3 separate regions of the Homo sapiens genome follow, and all the other regions are linked to region 2. Evidence: promoter capture Hi-C in 16 types of primary human blood cells and fetal thymus (Javierre and others, 2016). All regions are on one chromosome and are shown on one strand. The core of a region is centred on a gene start or on the middle of the fragment in contact, and the rest is flanking DNA. Distances in the headings are between cores, read along the strand shown.

Region 1 (4,964 bases), core at 115-2,614, 190 kb after region 2:
AATACAAAACAGACTGAAGAGATCACTGTGCAACCAGGCACACACAACACTAAAGAGGCTCATACCAGATGGCAATGGGAATGAACTTGGTAGTTATCCCAGCATAACACCAATTAAATTCCAAGCTCCAAGAAAGTCTTTACTATAGAGAAAAGACGAGTCTAAGTAATGGGAATTACTTAGACCAATGGGAATCTAATAAGGAATGTCACGTTTGGGCCACCAAATATAGTAAAGTAATTGGAATATAAGTACATGTGAAGAATTATGACAATAAAATCCTCAAAAAACCACACTAATGAAGCAAAAGAGAGTAGCCTTATGTAGCTATTGTGGTTGCTCTGAATCCTTACACTTAACTTAGAGAGTATATTTACCCATCAAAGAAGAAACTCCAGCACAGTGTATTTCCTTGTTCACGGAACTAAAATTGCCATGCATTAATAACCCAACGATTATACTGAAAAATTCAGATGTGCGGTCCCACCCATTTTAAGCCTTGAAAATGGCTGAACTATGTAGAAATAGGCACATACTGGTATTGTAATTTCCATTTTAAAATGATATTTTCATTCCTAGAATGCTATGTACAAATGCGCATACCACTAGAATGCCATATGGACATAAATTTTTTTTAAATTTAATAAGAATTGGCCCAGTTATGAATAAAACAACTTGTTGGAAATAAGGTTGAGAAGCTATTAATTAAATGCAGCATAGATGTTCTTAATTAGAAAATATGCACCTTATGTCAAGGTCCTTTCATTTATTTTTAGGAAGAAAGAACCTGTTTCTGGAACATGAAAAAAAAATTGGGTTTCTTTTATACTAACTAGAGCTACAAAATATCAAAACTAGGTCAGAGGTGGAGAGATCAGACTAACCGCACTTATTTACCATAGCTGGGAAAGGCATTCTTCTGTAATGGAAAACTGTGTGAACCAACAGTCAGGTGTCTCTCTGCATATGCGAACATCTCTGTGCATGTGTGTGTGCATGTGCGTGTGTGTGTGTGTGTGTGGCTACCTATGTAAGTGTTTATTTGTACATATCCTTACACACAACCACACTTTTGGAGTCCACAGAATTAAAAAAGAATACATAGTGCTAAAAAAAATGCAGTGACAATTTAATCCATCCAACAAATACACATTGAATAGCTCTATGTTCGAGGATCACATCATTGTGACTTTAGCATCTATGCCTTCCCAAATGGTGAGATAGTTTCCCCAACTTCACCATGTAAGACATAAAAGGCCTGGTTGTGCCTTGTAAAAGTTTACAGGCTGGAAGGGGTCTGATTTCACCCTGCTATCTCAGGACTTTCCAGATCTTCCAAAGGACTGATGATCATGACTCTATCACAGAGGAGAGGAAGTATCAGTGTAAAGTTCTGGTTGGAAAAAAGACCAGTAAACCAACTTTGGCTGTGTTTATTATTTACATACTGCATAAGTGATCTCTAGGATAGATTTATTTGTAAAGAATGAAGGGACACCAGTGAAACCATTATTTCATCAGCATTATCTTCCCCTACTTCAATCTACCTTTGGAACCTCTATCACGTGCTTAACTGTCCATTAAAAAAAAAAAAAAGGTTTATTTCTCTAACCAACCTTTATATTCCCATTTGGTCCTTCACTATGTTTTGAAAATTGTGACTCAAATCTGAGAAGTCCTCTTACATACAAAGTGGAACTTTAAAAGTGAAGTATTAAAACAATTCAAGTATTTCATAAAATCACATTTCTGTACAATATCCTTGTAAAGGAAGCAGGATTCCAGAAAGGGGAATTAGAAATAAAATTAAGTCCTTTTGGCAAATCTTTCCTGAATCTCTTTATTTATACAAATATGTTTAGGGCTCAACAGACTGTGACATAAAGAATAAAGATATTAAAGACCCACGCATCTGTCCACAAGGAGACAGTAAGGATTTATTAAGGAGTTCATTTTGAATTTCAAATCTAGTGCTTCCAAAGAGTTAAACGTATATTAATTTCCCTAATATAGATTAAAGGTCACTTCATGTATTTAATTTCTTTTGGCTTGTACTATGGAATCTCTTCTGGAGTGACCAGAAGATAGAACTGAATGCTTTTTAGCTCAGGAGAAGTGATAACTGGTTTTAGACTAAATGGCCTTCCTGCAGACAGTATCTCAATTCAATAGAGTCTTACAGGGCACCATCACACACGCTCTGTCCTCAGACTGGCAGACATTACCGCTTTCTTCTGTCCAGACAAAAGAAACACAAGTAACTGGGAAGGAAAGAAGCAATAAATGAATGAAGGATCCTCACTGGGCACAAAGTAATCAGAAATATGGCACAAGGGAATGCTGTCTATGTGGTGAAATACGTGAAGTGATCCACAAAGTTGAATAAAACATGAGAATGTTCCATGACCTCTACTGTTCATTATACTTCCCTGGACAGGGGTAATGAATGCTTGGTCTCAAGGCAGCCCCTCCTCTGGCTGGGGTTAAATGGGGGCCCTATGTGCTCTGTATAAGACCACCCCCTCAAGCAGGAGTCCAGCGGGAGACCCAAAACCCTGGGTGCTGTCCTTTCTCCCATTCCAGTCTATAAATCAATAGCCTTGGGAATATCAGGACTAACTTAATCATATCTTTTATCCCTGTTAAGAATACAAGGAGAAGCCCTCAAGGACTCACAAGTCATTTCTCAACCTTACACTTTTACCACCATATGGCTCTTTCCATTCCTCTTCCTGACCCTATCACCCACCATTCCCAATGCTTGAAACCCTTTCCCTGTGCTGTCTGGAACTTATAGTCATTAGCAAGATCCCACTGCTCACTCCACCTCTAGCCCCCCTATGTGGTGACTATTTTCTCCCCACATTCCCTGAACTTCAAGGCTTAGAGGTAGAGTGGGTTATCTTTATCACATCTATACCACTGTCCCTCCTTTCTTCTGTAAAATCCTGACCTTTGATTCACACAAAATCAGACTATATTGCCCACTCTCCCTCATTCTGGGAAGATCTGGGTTCCTGGTTCCCTGTCACTCTTCATCACTCCTGTGGCCATGACTCTAAGTGAATTCAGTAGCCACAGAGATGATCATTCCAATACCCTGGCTTTTCAGTCCCTGTTCTCTGCCCTAACTCCAAGGTCACACACCACTTCTTAGCTGAAATTCCTCCATGTTGCTCTCCCACCACCAACATCTCCTGTCAGTTTCCCATCTCTGATACCACAACTTCAGCAAGTCTCTGACCCCAGGGAGACCTCCAACCCATTGGATACTACAGCTTTTCACTGTCCCTCACCCTCCTCATGTCCAAATTCACCTCCTTAGCCAATTTAAATTCCACAGTCAATTGTCATAACCACTCCCTTCCATACATGCTGAACTCTATCCCCACTCTAGTGTGGACCTGCTCACTCGGCAAAAACATGGCCTCGTTCACTTCAACACTCCACTCATACACATGAAGGCCCAGAGGGAGAAAAACACATAACACCTTTGAATGATCTCACTCGAAAGCCACAATATGGAACCTCACATTGCTTAGGTGATTGGCAAAAGTCCTCAGAAGTGTTGTCTCCAAACCTTCTCCTTCCATTCTCACTTGAATCCACAGAAGCTTGATAAATCTTTGTGGAAATGAACTGACATTAAGTAACATCACCAGATTTTAGACTAAAACAAATTTAATTATGTGTAAATACATTTTATATGAGATTTACTTCAGATTTCAAAGGCAGTTTGTGTCCTGGGTTAGAATGTTTCCAGAGATTCCTCTTAGCACAAATTCTTATGGTAAGACTATAAAAGAGGAGAATGTGTGGCAGAGAACATTAAAGATTCAAGGTCACTAACCAAATTCCTTTAAATCTATCCTGATTCTTCAGACCACAGGCTCATATCCTACTGGCTCCAAAGACTGTTCTACTGGTCCATTAGCTAGAGACAGATGTTTTTATTCTCTGAGCCTAAAGAAAATTACAATAAAGATGAGACGTTAATAGAAAATTAATAAAATTATCAAAAACTCTAAAAAGCTTTCCTAGCTATTGTTTATCCATTGGGTTAACAGGTTATGATTTTCCAATGTCAAAAACTAATATGATGCTGCTAAAGGAACATCAGAAAAGAAAAACTGGATGAAGGAATGACTAAGCATTGATTTTACTTGCAAAGCTAATTAGTGACCTTTTCTCCTAGAAAATGCATTCTTGGACTTTCTCTCCAACACTGCCATCCAGAAGACTCACCATCCATGCTATCAGATTTAAATTGCACGTTTTTAGGATACCTAATTAATTGCCAATGAAGGAAATTACTAGTTCCTTTTGAAAAATACATGCCCCAACTGGTAGCAACACTCAGTTAAATGGTACTGGAGGTCTACACATTATGCCCAAACCCCTTCCCTTGAACGCAAAGCAATCACTAATATTCCTTTCATATTTGGGTAAATCCTCAAGGTAAAGTGATAAATCTGAATCCACATGCCATTATAAAATTTCTCCTTGGTGGGTACTTACATATTCCACACACCAGTGCAGTATGCCTACTTAGTAACATATAGCCTTGAAATTATTCTAAACTTTAAATTCCTAGGGAACAAGGACACCTCTCTGTATTCATATCCCCTAGTTTTATAGGGCATATACAGTTAATAAATGCTCTATGAAAGCAATGTCCAATCCTCTGTACCCATTTAATACTCTGACTTAATTAGACGATGCTGCAAGCACTTGGTCAGTAGGGCAATGCATGTTTTAAATATTGTTGTGACTTTTAAGAATGAGACATGCCCGGCTGGGCACGATGGCTCATGCCTGTAATCCCAGCACTTTGGGAGGCCGAGGCGGGAGGATCACGAGGTCAGGAGATGGAGACCATCTTGGCTAACACGGTGAAACCCCATCTCTACTAAAAATACAAAAAAAATTTAGCTGGGTGTGGTGGCGGGCGCCTGTAGTCCCAG
Region 2 (4,528 bases), core at 524-3,023:
TTGTCAGTGAATTTTAAGCCACTTGGAGGCAGAGATCAGTGAATTGTTGCCTACATAACAATTCTAAGAATAAACTTTTTCTCTTGGATAACGTTCTTCAGGCCATGAGGTATGCTCACCTGGTTCCCTCTCCAACTCTCTCTCTGTCTGAATGAAGAGTTCCTTTTGCTTCATGCAAAGTTTTGGGGATGACCACTGAGTCAGAGTGGATACAGTCTGAAGAGGATGAAGAATAGCAGTATGAGGCAGTGGTGATGCCAAACAGCTCTGAATGCTGACTGGTTCTAGGGAATGCACCTCTCTGCCCTCTGAGCTGCAGGGACAGGGAGATGAGCTGGCAGCAGCTGCCTCAGAGATAAGGATGTGAGACACAAACACCTAAGGAATTCCTTTGGACTTCCATCACCCCCCTCCATCCAACTTTATCAAAAGCGAGGTGGTGTGGGCAGCTGGCTCCTTTCAGCCTGGGCCCACCACATGGTATGCTTTCCTGCCTTCACAACATGCCCTTCTTGTAGCTTGATGGAAACTATGGTGAGGATCTTAGTCTGTTAGGGCTGCTATAATAAAATACCAAACAACAGCAATTTACTTCTCATAGTTTTGGAAGCTGAGAAGCCCAAGATCAAGGTGCCAGCAGACTCAGTTTCTGGTGAGGGCCCGCTGGCTGGTTCATAGACCATACCTTCTCACCATGTCTTCAAACGGAGGAAGGGGTGAGAAAGCTCCTTAAGGTCTCTTTTATAAGGGCATTAATCCCATTCACGAGGGATCCACCCTCATGACCTAATCACCTCCCAAAGGCCCCACCTCCAAATACCATCACATTGGGCTTCAGGTTTCAACATATGAATTTGGGGGGATCATAAACATACAGTCTACAGCAGGTTATAAATGGTATTTTCACTATGGGACTCAGGAGCATCTGAATCCTGTCCTACCCATCTCCCTTTAAAGGAGATACATAAAGCAACCCCTCCTTTAGCAAAAATTTTCTGGGCCTCTGGCTTCTTCCAAACAGGGATAGCTCAGTGTTATACACTAAGTAAGTTGTTGCATGAAAAATAAAAAAGAAAAGCCCCTGCACCTGTCTTTCTCAACAGACAACTGGCTGAAGTTTACAACTAGGCAGTATCTACTCCACTTAGTTTAGATACACTACTTAACTACCAGAGAGTTTCATCCCTTTTCATTTGCTCCTTTACTCAGTAACAGCTCTCAAAGATGGGGAAGGAAGAGAGGCATATCTAAGTTTTTAATATTAGTCTAATTTGCCAACTTAAGCTTTCAAATACCACTGAATAAATGACAAGTAGATTCACTGAATTTAGAGGGAGAAACACAATACTTCTTTAGGTTTTGTTTCAGGGGGATCAAGTTTTAAGAGGCAGTGAAATGAAGTCAGGTTCAACTGTTCCAAATTTCTAGACACGAGCAAAGCTTAAGCCATGCAACAATGTATTGCTTTTCTAAGGATTATTAATAATGCATTTGTAACTACTCAGAGACTGGCAATAAACTTTCAGAGAGTGAATAAGAATGTAATCTGTCCACAGCAACATAGACAAATTACTTTGATAAATTCTTTACGAGGGTGCCTCATCTCCTGCAATTCTTGGATTGGTTACAAGTCTATAGTTAATCCTTCAATAACTCCCACAAGCACCTCATTACTCATAATACTGTGACATCCTGAGTTGTAAAAGAGGTGCTGTTATATAACACAGGCACTGTATAGCAGCCTTAGGTTATGAATATTAAGAGACAATCTCAAATGAGATAATATCAATAAAGACCTCCTGTCGTCTCTACCCAAGAAATAAACTAAAGGAAGGCAGTGTCCTTGCAGGCATTTTGACATCAGGGATGGTAAGTACAGGCACTGTTTCCCTTTCAGTTTCATGATTGTCATCCCTCTCACCAAGCCATGACTTTAGAACTATGTTCACGGGTAAGACTGACTCAGTAATTTTACTTTCTCATACTATCATTTTCTGGCTTTTGCATTAAGGTTATAGTAATTTCATGAAGTGAATTGTGGAGCACTTAACTGGCTAGTTTGGTCCATTTACATTTACTGTGCTTACTGACATTTGGATTTATTTCTGCCTTGTCCTACTTATCCAGATTTCTCTATATCTATTTTCCCCTTCTTGATTGCCTTCCTTTGGACTGAGTTTTTTCTTTCTTATTCTAATAGTTCTGTTTTACTGGTTTGGAAGTTATGAATTCTATGTCTTTTAGTAGTTTCCTTGAAATTTTGCCATGCCTACTAAAACTTGACTATGCCTAAGTTAATTGATATATTTTCCATCCTAACAATACAAGGAATTTATAAGACTTTGATTCTCTTCATCCCCTCCCAACTTAACTGCTATTATTGTCTAGTATATTTATTCTGTGTTGTTTTTCATTAACCCCACATATTAGACATTATTATATGTTTCATACAGAAAATGTTTGCTTGGGTTGACTACTATGTTTGCCAATTTCTTTGCTGGCTATTCCTTCTTATATTTAAGACCTTGTTTCTCAGAAGAAATGTTCTTTTTCCTGAGGCATATCTTTTAGAAGTTCTGTAAATGAATGTCCATCTGTGAAAATGTTCTACTTTAAAAAATATCTGAAAATGTCTTTATTTTACCCTCGTGCTTTAATGATTATTTGATCAGATCTTTAATTCCAAGTTGCTGGTTGTTTTCTATCAGCATTTTAAAGATATTATTTCACTGTCTCCTTGATTCTGTGGTGGCTGTTGAGAAGTCAACCATCAGTTTAAATATTATTCCTTTATAAGGAACATTTTCCTCTGGCTGCTTTTAGGATTATCTCTTTATTTGCTGTTTTTATAACCAGGCATGCATGCAGTTCTTGTTGTTTATTTATTTATTTATTTTTGAGAAGGAGACTCACTCTGTCAGCCAGTGCAGAGGCTGGAGTGCAGTGGCATGATCTCGGCTCACTGCAAGCTCCGCCTTCTAGGTTCAAGCAATTCTCCTGCCTCAGCCTCTTGAGTAGCTGGGATGACAGGCGTGCACCACCATGCCTGTCTAATTTTTATATTTTTAGTAGAGATGGGGTTTTACCATGTTGGCCAGGTTGGTCTTGAACTGCTGACCTCAGGTGATCTATCCACCTCGGCCACCCAAAGAGCTTGGATTACAGGCGTGAGCCACCACGCCCAGCCCTTATTATTTTTGAGACTCACAGTATTCCCAGAATCTGAGTATGCATATCTTTCATACATTCTAGAAAATATTCTAAGCCATTATGTTTTCAAATACGTCTCCCCCATTGTCTCTATTCTCTCGTTCTTGAACCCCCACCTGTACTTATGTTAGGCCTTCTCATACTAGCTTCTGTGTCTCAATTACCCTTTCTCATTTTTTTACTTTCTTATTTCTCCATAGTATATTCCAAGTAATTTCTTAAGCTCTGTTTTAGTACATTGATATTTTTAAAGAAGATGTTTAATCTGCTAGTTAAGCCATCCACTGAATTTTAAATTCCAATAATTACATGTTTTTAATTTTGTAAGTTGTAGCTGGGTCTTTTTTCAAGTTGAGTAGTCTATCGTCTCATAATCTTCCTCCCCTATTTCCATCTTTTGTTTCAGTATTTTTATATAGTGTAACAGACTGTCTCTAAAATGGATGCAACAATACTCTGGCTCCAAATGCCTTCTCAGAACCTTGCCAATCCTCATCAAGAAATGAAATACATTTTCCCTTCCCTCAAGCCTGGCTAGGCCATGTAATCTCCTTAATGAGTAAAATATTGTGGAAGTGATGCTGCATGACTCTGAAGGTAGGTTAGAAAGGATTATATGACTTCTATCTGGTTCTCTCTGCACACACCCTGGGAACCAATTAACATACTGTGAAGAAGTCAAGGCCACATGGAGAGGCCACATTTGGGTGTGTGGTTGATAACTCCAACTAAGGTCCCATTCACAGCCAGCATGAACCACCAGAAATATGAATGAATGAGACTTCAGAGTATTGCAGCAGTCAGCTGTCAAGTCACTTCAGCCTTCAGGCCATCTAGCTGAGGACCCAGACAACATGGAACAGAGACAAATCATTCTTCCTATATCCTAAGTCACTGACCCACAGACTCCATGAGCATAATACATGGTTGTTTTATGCCACGAAGGTCTGGGGTAATTGTTAAACATTAATAGATTATGAGAATATCAAGTAGTTCATATTCAGTATCTGATAATTCTAAGTTTTTGGCAGTCTTAATCAATCAATCATCAATCTCTTTTTTTTCTCCTCTCCCTTTTGCTGAGTCTTGCTTATCATAGCTTGCTTTCTTATGTATTTGGTAACTTTTTACTGAGATCACATATTCGACTGACGTTAATATGCAAGTATCTTGAGGCACCTTGGTTGAGAACATTTTCCTACCAAGAGAATTTCCATTTGTTTTAGCTGGGTCCCAGAAGGTGTTACCAACTGGAACTATTTTTATTTACATGGCATCTTAGAGTTATTCATATTGCATATTTAATAGGAATCAAAAC
Region 3 (4,529 bases), core at 2,028-4,527, 180 kb after region 2:
TCACTCCCACTCTATGATCTCACGAATATTTGAACTTCTATCTCCCTGTGCTGTGTGCCCTTGAAGGAATTAACTTCCTTGTACCTCAGGTTCCATCTCATTTGCAAATGGGATGTTAATAGTTCTTGTTCCTCACCTTTGCATATAGTAATGACGTAATATATGTGAAGTGCTTGGAACAGTGCCTGGACCATAGTAAACACGTCAAATATTAGCTATTGTTGCCATTACAATTAATAATTTTTAATTCCATCACCCATCCAAAAGCTAATAATCCTTCAAGGAGCAGCGCTGGTACCTTCATCATTCCAGCACATGAATCACCTCTCTTTGCCTCCCCTTTTCTCCTATGAACTATCTTTAGATAGAACCTGAATATCTACACCATTTCCTAATGAGATATGTGCACAGCACCCTACTCCAAACTAAATTTGAGGCCATTTCTTCTCTAGAGTGGGAGAGAGAAGGGAAGAGTGGCTGGAATAAGTCTAATACTGATTGTTCTAGTGACAGTAACAGAAGTCTGTTTGAAGGGAAAAATCAAGCATTGAAGAAAATCTAGTTGACCAGAGGGCCTAACATTCATGATTCAGATAGGCAAGTCTGGTAGTAGGATTAAAAGAATGTGGGTAAATGTTGAAGCTGAATACACATGGTTTATGATGCTGTTCTTTGGTTTCCTCTAGTTGAAAATTTCCTAATCACTGTTTTTTTTTTTAATTCAAGAAAAAGAATGGTTGAAAATAAAATCTTATCATTTATGATACTGGGGTATGCATTGTACAGATGACCAAAAACTTCCTAGCTGAAAAGCAACCCCTTGGATGCCTTATCTCTGCTCCCTATAACCGTGTCAAGAGATTCATCTTCAGTGTCTTAAGAAATAGTTTATGGAAGGTCTCAGCTATGAACACTAAGGGAATATGACATATTCAGAATGGATTACCATATGCCTTTTTTTTTTACTTTATCTCAGGACTAGCCCCTATGGAGGAGAAAGGGGAAAACAATAGAATAAAAGTGAACAGAATCACCTTCACCCCCCAATTACATGACTGTCCTGTCCCTTTGAAAGTCCCTTAGCAAAATGTGCTTTTAAAAAATTATGTATTCCTTTATTTTAAAAAAACAGAAATACCATTGTCTTTGGAATGTCCTCAGGGTTAGAACTATCTAAAAATAAAACATTACTTCAGGGACATGAAAAGAAATATAAATTGCCCAATGAATGTGACACCACAAAATGAATTAGACACAACAAAGAACTATATGAGATACACTTCTTTCAAAGCTGCCCCTTTTCAGTCCACAGTCCTTATAATTCAGTATGTCTAAGAACAGTATTAAACCAGAGAGGAAGTAAACTTCTGAAGGTTGGACAAGGGCAAAAACATCTAAAAAGGAGAAAACAACTTACCCAACGTCCTGTTCCAGCTTAACAGTCCATGTGCCATGTATGGGCAACTCTCTCATCTGTCTCAATCCATTTATTCAACAGATTGACTGAGCACTCAGTATGTGTGAGGTGCTGGGAGGGGGATGAGGAGTGAGGGACAGTTTCCAGTGCCATCACAATGTGCTGTAACAGAGGCATGTACAGGATACAGATGGATCACATGGGAAACAGTCAAGCCAGGCTGAGGAGTGGGGCGGCGGGGGGTGGGGGGGGGCTTTCCAAGTAATGTCTCTTGAGAGGCGAAACAGCTTGGTAGTTGAAAGCACAGGCTCAGGAACAGACTTGCTGGGCTCAAATCCCAGCACCACTGGCTCAGTGACTTTTAGTGGGTTGTTTAACTTCTTGTACTGTAAAATTGCAACTTTTTGAAAAAGTTACTGTTTTAGACGTATAGTGGGCATTAAATGAGTATTTTGTACAAAAAGTTTACAGGCCAAGTATGGTGGCTCACGCCTGTAATCCCAGCACTTTTGGAGGCCGAGGTAAGAGGATTGCTTGAACCCAGGAGTTCAAGACCAGCCTGGACGATAGAGGGAGACCTTGTTTCTATAAAACAATTTTAAAAATTAGCCAAGCACAGTGGTGCCTGCCTGTAGTCCTAGCTACTTGGGAAGCTGAGGCCAAAGGATCCCTTAAGTCCAGGAGGTTGAGGCTGCAGTGAGCTATGATTACACCACTGTACTCCAGCCTGGCAGACAGGGTGAGACCCTGTCTCAAAACAACAATAATAATAATAAATAAAAAGGTTAAAATAGCGCTTGGCAAACAAGTGACCATATAATATACTGTCTAAACTGGGATATTTTTAACAGGAAAGAGGGCAATACTAATTAATACACTATGACAAAAGGAGTCAACCAGAAGCGTCCAAGTCAAATCAGGACATTTGGCTACCCTCAATATGTGCTCATGGTTGTTATTATTGAATGATGTTGGCTAAGCAAAGAAGCAGGGAAAGGACGTTATGGCAGAAGTAACAACGCATACAACGACAGAGAGTCAAGAAACTGGGGTGAGTTCAAGGAATTCAGGTTCCTTTGCCACCCACTCCTGTAAGATGGACTTCCTTTCCTGCAGAGCATTCAGTGCCGCTGGCAGTTATGCACCATCATTGTGAATATCTGATTAGCATTTATTTCCCCCAGTAGACTGTAAACTCCAGAGAAGCCTGGTTTTGCTCAGCAAGCTTGGTTATGGGCACAAAGCAGGCACTCAAATATCTGTAGAATGGCTGTTGAAGTAACTTGGCATGGCAAAGGAGAGAGCACAAAGCAGACTGCAGAGGTCATAAAGTATGCTGCTCAGATTTATTTTCAAGACAAAATCTGCCACAAGGAGTAGAGTTAGCTGACAGCTCCTAGCTGTGGGTGTCTTTAGGATCTGCCACGGCTTTGAAGCTGAGGTCATGCTCTACTAAGGTAGCTCCAGCCAATAACCAAGCAAGGCTTGCCACTCCCAACCAATGGGGACTCCTCTATAGATGATCTTTGCACAAAAGTTCCTTGTTGCTCAGAGTTACATTGCAGTACAATGCTCTTCCTATCTGATTGTACTTGATTCCTTTCTTTTTCATGTGTCTCACTTGGTATTGCAGTCTAAAGTTTCCCTACCTACTCTTTTTCCCTTTCCCTATTATCTTTCCCCAATAGATCTTTTGCATTTCTAATCCCATGTTGGTGTCTGCTTCCTGGAAGAACCAACCAACATGAAGGCAGAGAGATACAATGCTGAAGCATTAAATAAGAGTCAGAGTTACAAGTGTTATGCAAAGAAATGTGAATTTTATTCTGGCCTGCAGGGAAATGTGACAGATCTATATTCCATATAGCAAGAATGGATTGAAGGAATGGCACAATCATTGCTGTGAACTGAATTGCGTTCCCCCCAAATTCATATGTTGAAGCCCTAATGTGATAGTATTTGTAGATGGAGTCTTTGGGAGGTAATTAGATTTAGATGAGGTCATGAGGGTGAGGCCCCTATGATGAGATTAGTGCCTTTATAAGAAGAGATACCAGAGTGCTTATTCTTTCCCTTTCTGCCGTGTGAGAACACGTCAAGGAGGTGGCCATCTGCAAACTGGGAAGAAAACCCTCACCATATTCTGACCATACTGGTACCCTGATCTCAAATTTCCCGCATTCAGAACTGTGAGAAAACAAATTTCTCTTGTCAAACCGCCCAGTCTATGGTATTTTGTGATGGCAGCCTGAGCTAGGACAGTCATCTTCCAGTGAAACGTCCAGATGAGAAATGATGAAGGTATGGATGAAGGCATGAGAAGTGACGACACTGTGCTATGGAACTGTTCAAGGAAACTGTAATTATCCACATTTTATATCCGAGAAGTTGTTATGTGGAAAGATAAGAATAACTTACCCAAGATCACCCATCTGGTCAGCTTAAAGTTCATGTTCCTTTCATCAAACGACTCTGCCACCCAGAGGAGAAGCTTTAAGGAGCTAAAGGGGAAGAGGATGAGTTCCTTTTTCATGTGAAGAGACCCTACTTGTGTCTATCTAGAGACTAAGCTTTCATTCACGCAAGTCCTAGTATTTAAAAAAAATGGAGAAAATATCCAAATATTAAGTACTAGGATGAAAGTACTTCACACTGGGTACATTGAACTGTACTGGCTTTCCTCTAGATATACACTTTACAATCAGCATGTAGCACTAAGTGTCTACTAATTTCAGCTTCTGAGTGTAAAAAAAAACAATATATGAGTTGAATGAAGGAAATGAACACACATGTGAATAACCAAATATGTGAAGAGATATGAACAAAGAGCTATGGAAAGGTATATAGGATCATTAATTCTGACTAAAGAGCTCTGGGAAGGATTCCAGGGGAGAAAGTGTTTGAGTTGGGCCTTGAAGAAGGAACAAGGATTAGACAAAGCATTCCTTCCTTGAAGTTATTGTCAAGACCAAAGGTAACCAACATATGTCCTTACATGCAAAAAATATGGTGAAGATGTAAATGAGTGGCTTAGTTTCTGCATCATACTTTATGTAAATCAGTTATTTTGAGGCCTCTGGAAGTTAATCACAACTCAAAGAGTTTGAAATTC

What was found. The method cuts DNA at HindIII sites, captures the fragments that hold promoters and counts their contacts. A CHiCAGO score of 5 or more calls a contact.
Region 1: a contact is called between a fragment that was not itself captured here and the fragment with the promoter of TMEM108-AS1 in region 2, in 1 of 17 cell types (megakaryocytes). The highest score is 6.6, in megakaryocytes.
Region 3: a fragment that was not itself captured here is called in contact with the fragment with the promoter of TMEM108-AS1 in region 2 in 1 of 17 cell types (megakaryocytes); the score reaches 6.6 in megakaryocytes.

What each region holds. Positions count from the first base shown.
Region 1 is chr3:133,061,342-133,066,305 of GRCh38, reverse strand. All of the region lies in intron 2 of TMEM108 (transmembrane protein 108), which reads right to left. Among named protein-coding and RNA genes, the nearest start is that of TMEM108, 25 kb to the right of the region's middle. The HindIII fragment of the contact is 4,505 bases long and covers 1-3,616 here.
Region 2 is chr3:133,254,366-133,258,893 of GRCh38, reverse strand. It overlaps TMEM108-AS1 (TMEM108 antisense RNA 1), which reads left to right and starts at 1,773. Exons shown (of 3, transcript NR_110812.1): 1 at 1,773-1,869. All of the region lies in intron 3 of TMEM108 (transmembrane protein 108), which reads right to left. The HindIII fragment of the contact is 5,600 bases long and covers 1,443-4,528 here.
Region 3 is chr3:133,080,312-133,084,840 of GRCh38, reverse strand. The region is part of intron 2 of TMEM108 (transmembrane protein 108); the gene reads right to left. Among named protein-coding and RNA genes, the nearest start is that of TMEM108, 44 kb to the right of the region's middle. The HindIII fragment of the contact is 1,266 bases long and covers 2,645-3,910 here.